Regions from separate parts of the Homo sapiens genome. Here region 1 is linked to region 2. The links are contacts of gene promoters, found by promoter capture Hi-C in blood cells and fetal thymus (Javierre and others, 2016). All regions are on one chromosome and are shown on one strand. Each heading gives the region's core, a stretch centred on a gene start or on the middle of the fragment in contact. The rest is flanking DNA. Distances are from core to core; before and after follow the strand shown.

Region 1 (4,143 bases), core at 1,360-3,859, 91 kb after region 2:
GGACTACAGGTGCCCACCACCATACCTGGCTAATTTTTTGTATTTATAGTAGAGACGGGGTTTCACTGTGTTAACCAGGGTGGTCTCGATCTCCTGACCTCGTGATCTGCCTGCCTCGGCCTCCCAAAGTGCTGGGATTACAGGCGTGAGCCACCATGCCTGGCTGCTTATCCTCTTATTTTCAAGGCGAACAGGCAATTTCACACAAGTCTCTGTAAAGGATGTGAAACTCTAAGAACTTTAGTGAAAAGAGAAACAGTCCAATATCGATAGTGTATTTCTTGGAATAAGCTGCTGCCTTCGGAAGCACTGCTGCTTTTGTAGGAGGCAGGAGGACAGGAATCTTCCACTAACAATGACACCAACCATGGTGCAAATCCAAGCTCTCTTGAGTGAGTTCTTTATTCACCAAAGGAAGGTACTATAAACAATCTCTCAGGTCTCTTTCAGAAATAAAATTTGATGGTTCTATAGCATGAAAGACAGGGAAAAGTTGGTGGAAAAAAAGGTTCAGATGATATCTTTTATTATTTCATATGTCATATCAGACATATGAAAGTTTACCCTGTGAGGCAGCACATAAAACTATTAATCTGTTCTTGAGTCTTTTCCCCTCTATGACTACTAGAACAGGTTTCCTAAGAAGCCATTTCCTGGGCCGGACGCGGTGGCTGACGCCTGTAATCCCAGCACTTTGGGAGGCCGAGGCAGGCGGATCACGAGGTCAGGAGATCGAGACCATCCTGGCTAACACGGTGAAACCCCGTCTCCACTAAAAATACAAAAAATTAGCCAGGCGTGGTGGTGGGCACCTGTAGTCCCAGCTACTCGGGAGGCTGAGGCAGGAGAATGGCGTGAACCCGGAAGGCAGAGCTTGCAGTGAGCCGAGATCGCACCACTGCACTCCAGCCTGGGCGACAGAGTGAGACTCCATCTCAAAAAACAAACAAACAAACAAACAAACAAACAAAAAAGAAGCCATTTCCTAACTGTTAAACTTGTAAAATAGTTTATATCCTAAAAGTAGTTCTTTTGATAATCTCTGCATAAGGGTCCTTAAATAGAAAAACATGCTCAAACAAAAACTAAAAGCTATTTAAAAGGTTACCTTAAATACAGCTTCAATTGCTTAAACAACAACAACAAAAAACAACAGATGCAAATCCCTAGAACTGACGCATAGGTAGAATTCACCTTAATCGTGACTTGTTGGCCTTCTTTATATGCACATTTTATTAACATAGTCTAAAAAAGTATATCCTGAGTAAAGTTGTAAAGTCAGTTTTTAACCCAAATCATACTATTTCAAAATCTCTCTTTAAAACATTACAAAATTAAGTGATCTACTTATTTCCTAGTCAGTGTTCTGCTGCTTACAACAGAATAGCTGAAACTGCATAATTTATAAATAAAAGGAACTTATTTCTTAAGTTATGGAAGCTGAGAAGTCCAAGGTTGAGGGGCTTCATCTAGTATGAGTGTTCTTGCCGGTGGGGTCTCTGCAGAGTCCTGAGGCAGTGCACAACATCACATGGTGGGGGGCTGAACGTGCTAGCTTAGGTCTCTTCTTATAAAGCCACCAGTCCCACTCCCATGAATTTAACCCATTAATGCATGAATGGATTAATCCATCCATCAGGGCTCTGCCCAATCACCTCTTAAAGGCCCCAGCTCTTAATACTGCCAGATTGGGGGTTAAATTTCGACATGAGTTTTGGAGGGAACAAATATTCAAACCAAAGCATTTATACTAAAAACTTCTTTTTAACTAGCTACCATCCTAGATATTTTATTACCTAACACTGCTTAAAGTCATCTCAGTAATAGCTAGAAAAAGGAACCAAAAAAGAGAACTGTCTACTCTATTAGTCCTCCTGGAAGGATGCTAAGTTCTGAGAGAGAGGAAAAAACAAACAAAAAACCAGTATCTGCATGCATCCATGGCTGTGTAGTTTTCAGTAGTAATATTAAATCAAGAGAATATTCAAATGTTTCATCTTTCCTGACGATTTTAAAGCTGAACTCCATACTCTTGCATAAATATTAACATTCCACAACTATTAGCTCTAAAAACAAAGCAAAAAGACAAAAATTCTTTGTCCTTCCTTTTTCAAGAATGCCAATTGGCTCTAAGCAGAATTGAGTACTTTACTCATATTCCAAACAATTTGTGCCAAGATTCCATTTGATGATAACAAATATTCTGGGTCTTCTCCCAACTTTTGTTTGTTTTCTTATTTTATCATTAGAATTTCTTTAACAAATTCTCCAATTCTTCTTTCCCCTTGGCCAAAATCTCTGGTATGTTGGCATCTCCCTCTAGTGGTTCTCCAACCCTTCCAATGCCCTTAGACATTCCCAAGTCAACATCAGGAATAATAATTCTCATCTGGAATAAGAATTTAACAACCCACTCCAGATTAAAAAGCCTCTCATTCTCAAGCATAGATGACCTTATAGTTTATAGTCTACCATTCTAAATCATTTGGAATAAAAAGATATTACTACTCAATTTATATTAAATATTTCTAAGTAAATAATTTAATACAACCACTTAAAACCAGTATTCTAATTCTTCTGATGAGCAAAGTAAGAAAACTAGTTCCATTTTCATAAGCAGAAGAGGGTATTTAGTGACATAATAGTTGCCTTCAGAAGGAACAGAATGTAATTTTGGGGTCATGAAAGTTCAGTAACTTTACCTACCATTTTTTAAATTTGGGGTAGAGATCTGGACCATGCTGGTCACAAGCCTCCTTCAGAGTTCTGTGAAAATGGACAGCGTCTTCTTGATTCAAGTATGTTGGAGTGAGGTCACATCCACCACCAAACCACCACTGCTTGTTGCCTACCAAATCAAGACATGGGATTCTAATGTGGACTTTTGAGATTCAGCATTACTGGCTATATTAGGACACTTAATTTAGCAGCTTAATTTTTTCAGCATAAAATGGATGACAATAAAAAAAATTTTAACTGATTTTAGCTCTGAAGACCAGTAAGGCCTAGGCAGAAAAAAAGAGGTAAAAGCGGCCAGGCGAGGTGGCTCATGCCTGTAATCCCAGCACTTTGGGAGGCCCAGGCAGGCAGATCGCCTGAGGTCAGGAGTTCGAGACCAGCCTGGCCAATATATGGTGAAACCTCGTTGCTACTAAAAATACAAAACATAGCCGGGTGTGGTGGTCACCTATAATCCCAGCTACTCGGGAGGCTGAGGCAGGAGAATCACTTGAACCCAGGAGGTGGAGGTTGCAGTGAGCTGAGATAGCGCCACTGCACTCCAGCCTGGGCAACAAGAGTGAGACTCCATCTCAAAAAACAAAATAAAACAAAACAAAACAACAAGAAAAAAGAAGAAAGAAAGAAAGACAGTGGAACTTGCAAGGAATGATATGCAGGGCAGTGAATGATAAAACAGTACACTGGTGGATCAGGAAGTGGATTGCAACTCTGGCTGTATATAAGAATCACATGACGAGCTTAAAATAGCTCTTCTAGATCACAATAAACACACACACACACACACACATCTCTGGCCCAGGAATCTGTAGTTTATAAAACTCCCCAGGAGATTCTGACACTCCTTGTATTAAGAACCATTGCCAACCCCTCCCCTTTCCTAGAAAGAGTAAAAACACTTGCTGAGGTAACTTACCACTTGAGAATAACTGTTTCATGTGCTCACAGGTCCATGAGTTGTCAATACCAGTTACCAACTTTAAACATAAAAGGTTGAACCAAGCTGAATGGCTTCAAAATGAAAAGTTAAAGCAGTGACTTTAAATGCCATCACCTACAGAGACACCAATAAGAATAGGTGTGGCACTGCACATGTACTCTGACATCTAGTATCAGATAAAAGACAGGCTGGAACTATGTGCACAGGAGGCATGATCAACTGCATCCCATTTTAAACCCACTGCTAATGCCCTGGTGACTAGCAAAGCTATGCATATGTAAAATATTTTCCAAAAGCAAGTTCTCAATTTCAATTTAACCTCGTACATAAGGTATTCCTTCAGATGTAATGAATTTATGTTTGCAAAGAACTCTGGGTGCACACTAAAGTTCAGGTTCATTCCTTCTATGTTGGAGGAAATATGGGAAGGTTAGAGTCAGTCAATACCATTCTTTTTGTTTTGT
Region 2 (6,037 bases), core at 3,258-5,757:
TTAAATGTTATCACTCACACAAAAATAATAAGTGTTTAGGCAATACATGTTAATGAGCCTGATTTAGCCATTCCACAATATATACATATATTAACCCATCATGTTGTATGCCATAAGGATATGCAATTTTTATGAGCCGATTAAAAAATACATTTTAAAAATTACAGTAAGGCCAGAGCTCCTGAAATAAAATACTATCACTAACCAAAGAAAAAAATATGGAGAATGTGTTAATTTCCAACCTCTGCTCACAAAAAGCAATCTCCCCTCTAAGGCAACAAATCCTGGTTTCCAATTCCTCCATGAAGCCTTTGCTGACCTCTCCAGTATGAATATTTTTTCCCACTAAGGATTTTATATTCAGATTGATGATAAGGATAAGTGGCATAAGCTCAAATGAATGGAAATCAAAATATGGCCCTTAAAATTTGTTTATTAATCAGCTTTTGGCTTATTCTCCAGGTCTCAAAGGATATGCTAATTAATCCAATTTAGTATGTTTGTAATGTTCAGAAGATTAAGTCTCTTAGGCTATACTTTGATGTCAATGCCAAATAAATCCTCTTAGAATTATTTTGAATAGTTGGGTCATTCTCTGCAACAACATAAATATTAACATTGATCTCATTGTGCATATATTCTCCTAAATGATCAAGAAGATAGTTTAATTGCTGCATCTAATTTAAAAACTAATACCAGGCAACCAACTGGTCTCTATATAACTCTTATCAGGAATATCGAGGTGAGAATTTAACACATTATTAAATTAGAAACTAGAAAAATTGATATCCTGAAACATGTTTTCTTTTAGTTATTTATGGTTTTCTTTTTCCTTATGTTTCCAACTTTTCAATTTTTTCGGATTCTTATATTCTTTTTCTAAATCTAAAGTCTATTGTGTAAACTCTAGACAATTTACTATCATTCATTTGTATCACTTATGAATTCAAGAGGAGCCTACACTGATCCAAAAATAAATAAGAGCATACTTTTGTAGTAATAACAGAATACATTAGGGAAGATTTTTAAACTTCTTTAAATAACGTGGTAACCTCTACAATGAAATAGTGTTGAAAATGTTTGTATTGGGCATTCCCTATGTATTAAAAAAATTATATGAGCAAGGACTATAATTTCAAACCAATCTTTTAAACCCCCAATATAATTTTAGGGAGTGTTCTTGTTTCTCTTTTGATTCTTAGAGAAATCAAATACCAATATAAACCTTATTTCTGTTTAATTTACTATAATCAACTGAGAAAACTGAAGGGAATCTTATGTTATGTGACTTTAAACTGGCAAGAGTAACCAGTTAATGAAAAAGTATTCAAAGTATATTTATATACATTTCAAAGTTCATTTTAAAATATTGTTTCTAAAGATATCATCCCCCAAATAATCTGATATTTAAAAGTCAGCAATATTTTCAGGAAACTAAAATAGAAGAGGTCTTTCTATGTCTCTCCAAAACATTTTCTCTGTTCCTGAAATTTGGAGTGTACTTGTGGTCGGTAACTATCCAGAAAATTATCAATCTGTAAATATCTAGAACAGTCTCAACTACCTTTTAAAGAAAGTAACAGGATGAAAGTAATTGGATGAAACAGGCATCCAATATCAGGACAATGCATATATGCTTCCAAATGTAGCTATAATAAATGAAGGTAGATCAAAATAAAACATGCTCCAGCAGGTTAGAACTCCATGTTTAAGGACATACCTAAGGGGTTAGTAACAGAAGTTTTAAAAATATTCTCAAATTTTAAAAAATGTGATCATCATAGAATCTAGGAATACCATAGAATCATGATGTTCAAAAGAGTAGAAGTTGACACTAAGGTGATACTGCTTTCATAGGTAAAGGACTGTAAGAATGCATTACCACAAGATGCAAACATATCCCTTAATGTTTTGAGATACGTGCAAGACTGTCAGCAAACAATTATTGTAACTACCAATGTCATCACCATGAGAATGAAGCAGGCACTTGTTCAGTAAGTGCATTGTGATGTTCTCCACTGTAGATTTGTAAAGTGCAGAAAACGTTAGTTGAATCCCCAATGATTTTTATGGACTTATCAAAGTATAAAACATAGCAGATGTAAGAGTACATCACTTTACTTAAAATTAAGATTGTTTTCTGAATATGAGGAACAGTTATTATAGAAAATTTAAAATAGAGAAAAATATAAAGAGGAAAAAATGACCAATAATTTTTATTACATAGCAAAAACTAGTAAAAACATTTTGATGTGCTTCTGTACTACCTTCTATTACATTTACATGTAAATATTTATTTGGTAATTCCGGTTATACTGCATGTAAAACTTTTTATTTTGTTTTTATGCAATATTTTTATGTCGGTTTTATTATAATAGATATTATAGCTAAACACCATTTAAAATATTTGTCAGTATACATTCATATGGATGGTTCACATTTATTTAATCATACTGGTTAACTAACTGGTTACCATTTAGGTGTTTAAATTTTTCACTATTATGAGTGAGATTATAATGAACATCATTATATGTACATATTTTCTGAAGTTTTAGTTATTTCTTTTTGATGCATTTATTTTTACTGATCAAAAGGTATGAACCTTAAGAGTTTCTTTAATCTATTACCAAATTATTTTCTAATGATTACACCAATTTATACATTTACCAGGAATGCAATTAGGTTGCCATTTTACTATATTCTAGATAACGCTCAATATTATCAGTTTTTTAATCTTATTTTCATATACAAAATAAATATAGCTTCATAGGTGTTTCTGAATGGTGTTTCTCTGATTAGTAATAAAATCAAACATTTTTAATTTACTTAAAAATGTTTTTTTCTTTGAGATTTTTCTATTCCTGGGCTTTACCTATTTTCTAGTAATTATTCCTACTCATTTGTATGAGATCTTATAGCAAAGGTACAGAAACTTTATCAAATTTACTGCAGATAATCTCCCAGTTTGACATTTTATTCATAATTTTTTGATACGTAGTTAGACAACCGAATATATTTTTAACTCAGGATTTCTCCAATTGCTTTTAATAACATTAATTTCTTTATGCACATAAGTAGTTTTACTCATAGTATCACTAGTAACATAGGAGGCTTTTTGGTTTTGGTTTGGTTTTTTTGAGACAGGGTCTCGCTGTGTCACCCAGGCTGGAGTGCAGTGATGCTATTATGGCTCACTGCAGCCCCCATCTCTCAGGCTCAATGAATCCTCTCACCTCAGCCTCCCCAGTAGCTGGCACTACAGGAGCATGTCACAATGCCCTGGTAATTTTATATACTTTATTTTTTTTTTTAAGAGACAGGGCCTCATTATGTTGCCCAGGCTGGTCTGGAACTCCTGGATTCAAGTGATGCTCCCTCCTCAGCCTCCTGAAGTGCTGGGATTACAGGCATAAGCCACTGTGCTCACCAGACTTTTTAAATGCAGTGTTTTGTTTTTTCTCCCAGCTTCCATCCATAACACTTTTACTCCCCAACTCCCAGGAATATAAATATCTTATAAATATTCCCTTTTCCCCCAGAGCATCTTATTTTTAAGTGTATATTCCACTAGTATTGGAGATAGTAATTTGCTGAAATAGGCAGATGAAAATAGTATTTTAAAAATATTTTTATTGGGGTAAATTATACACAACATAACTTTTATCATTTTAGTCATATTTAAGTGTACAGTTCAGTAGCATTAAGTGCATTAATATTGTTGTGGAATGATCACCATCATTTATCTCTAGAACATTTTCATCTTCCTAAACAGAAACACTGTACCCATTAAACAATAGCTCCCAGTAGACCCCTTCCCCTGGCAACTACCATTCAACTTTCTGTCTCTGTAAGTTCGACTACTCTAGCTTTCTCATGTAATTGGAATCATACAATATTTGTCCTTTTGTGTCTGGCTTATTTCAATCAGCCTTATGTCCTCAAGGTTAATCCATGTTGTAACATGTATGAGAATTTCAATCCTTTTTAAGACTGAGTAATATTCCACCACAATTTATTTATCCATTCACCTGTCCATGAACATTTGGGTTGTTTTTACGTTTTGGTTATTGAAGGTAATGCTGCTGTTAACATTAGCATACAAAAATAGTCTTTTAAACACATTGTTAACCACTACATATACAAACATTGAAATCGGGAACACTGGTACCAATTACTGACACTTAAATTACGAATCAGCTTTACCTATACTATATGGAGAAGTTCTGTGCTCTCAATATTTCTCTCAAGACCTCAAAAGTCATCCTTGTGCACCCAATCAGATATTTTTTCAAAATATGATAGAAACATGTTCAACCAATAGCCACAAAAGTAGTAGCCTCAGGAGACTCATTCTCGCAGTGAATTGGGCATGCACCAAATTCCAGGCAAGATGAGGAGACATTGTGGAAGATGCTCTCCTTCTTTTAAGCCAAAGAGACGTCAATAATTGTGGCATATTATTAATTAGTGCCTTATTCCTCTACAATTTTTTTCAGAGAGGTCAGGAATGGTTGAAGAAAATCATACCATGAAAAATGAGTTTATCCTCACAGGATTTACAGATCACCCTGAGCTGAAGACTCTGCTGTTTGTGGTGTTCTTTGCCATCTATCTGATCACCGTGGTGGGGAATATTAGTTTGGTGGCACTGATATTTACACACTGTCGGCTTCACACACCAATGTACATCTTTCTGGGAAATCTGGCTCTTGTGGATTCTTGCTGTGCCTGTGCTATTACCCCCAAAATGTTAGAGAACTTCTTTTCTGAGGGCAAAAGGATTTCCCTCTATGAATGTGCAGTACAGTTTTATTTTCTTTGCACTGTGGAAACTGCAGACTGCTTTCTTCTGGCAGCAGTGGCCTATGACCGCTATGTGGCCATCTGCAACCCACTGCAGTACCACATCATGATGTCCAAGAAACTCTGCATTCAGATGACCACAGGCGCCTTCATAGCTGGAAATCTGCATTCCATGATTCATGTAGGGCTTGTATTTAGGTTAGTTTTCTGTGGATTGAATCACATCAACCACTTTTACTGTGATACTCTTCCCTTGTATAGACTCTCCTGTGTTGACCCTTTCATCAATGAACTGGTTCTATTCATCTTCTCAGGTTCAGTTCAAGTCTTTACCATAGGTAGTGTCTTAATATCTTATCTCTATATTCTTCTTACTATTTTCAGAATGAAATCCAAGGAGGGAAGGGCCAAAGCCTTTTCTACTTGTGCATCCCACTTTTCATCAGTTTCATTATTCTATGGATCTATTTTTTTCCTATACATTAGACCAAATTTGCTTGAAGAAGGAGGTAATGATATACCAGCTGCTATTTTATTTACAATAGTAGTTCCCTTACTAAATCCTTTCATTTATAGTCTGAGAAACAAGGAAGTAATAAGTGTCTTAAGAAAAATTCTGCTGAAAATAAAATCTCAAGGAAGTGTGAACAAATGACATCTATCCTAGCTTAATGGTTTAATGCTCAAAAAACTTCTAAATAAAATTACACAGAGGAAGTGTACTAATTGTATACAAAATATTAAAACATATCAAAATACAATCAAATTAAGCAGAAATATGTGACAGGGAAAATTCATGGAAAGGAGTGAACTGTGCTAAATATTTACTCAGAATTTAAAAGCACATGCAGACATTGAATTCACTCAAGCAGCAATGTAGAAAGCCACCATGCCTATAGACTGTGTTAGTATCAATGATGATCAACACCCAAAACAACAGCAAAACTACCAGTTACAAATATAAAAAGCCATACCATTTACAAAGCGGGCTTTGATAACCAGCCCACTCTATAGCTTACAACATGTGCATTACAGTTAAGTGTTTAAGATCATGTGAACAGTCAACCAACGAACTCACTTATATCCATGAGCAACAAAAATGGCAAGTGAATTTTGAGGAAGAAAATGTAATAGCATGTGGGGGACATTATTGTAGTTAGAATGAGGTAGTCAGGAAGTGATTGTGCCAATAAAAGTGAATATTATATTTCCAAATAGAAGTTGTTGTTAAATG

Evidence for each region. The method cuts DNA at HindIII sites, captures the fragments that hold promoters and counts their contacts. A CHiCAGO score of 5 or more calls a contact.
Region 1: a fragment that was not itself captured here is called in contact with the fragment with the promoter of OR5K2 in region 2 in 4 of 17 cell types (non-activated CD4 T cells, total CD4 T cells, total CD8 T cells and 1 more); the score reaches 5.8 in non-activated CD4 T cells.

The regions. Positions count from the first base shown.
Region 1 is chr3:98,586,007-98,590,149 of GRCh38, forward strand. CPOX (coproporphyrinogen oxidase) reads right to left here. Exons shown (of 7, transcript NM_000097.7): 4 at 2,707-2,848. Among named protein-coding and RNA genes, the nearest start is that of CPOX, 5.5 kb to the right of the region's middle. The HindIII fragment of the contact is 8,070 bases long and covers 1-4,143 here.
Region 2 is chr3:98,493,174-98,499,210 of GRCh38, forward strand. OR5K2 (olfactory receptor family 5 subfamily K member 2) reads left to right here and starts at 4,508. Exons shown (of 1, transcript NM_001004737.1): 1 at 4,508-5,458. The coding sequence starts at 4,508. The coding sequence ends at 5,458. The HindIII fragment of the contact is 17,047 bases long and covers 1-6,037 here.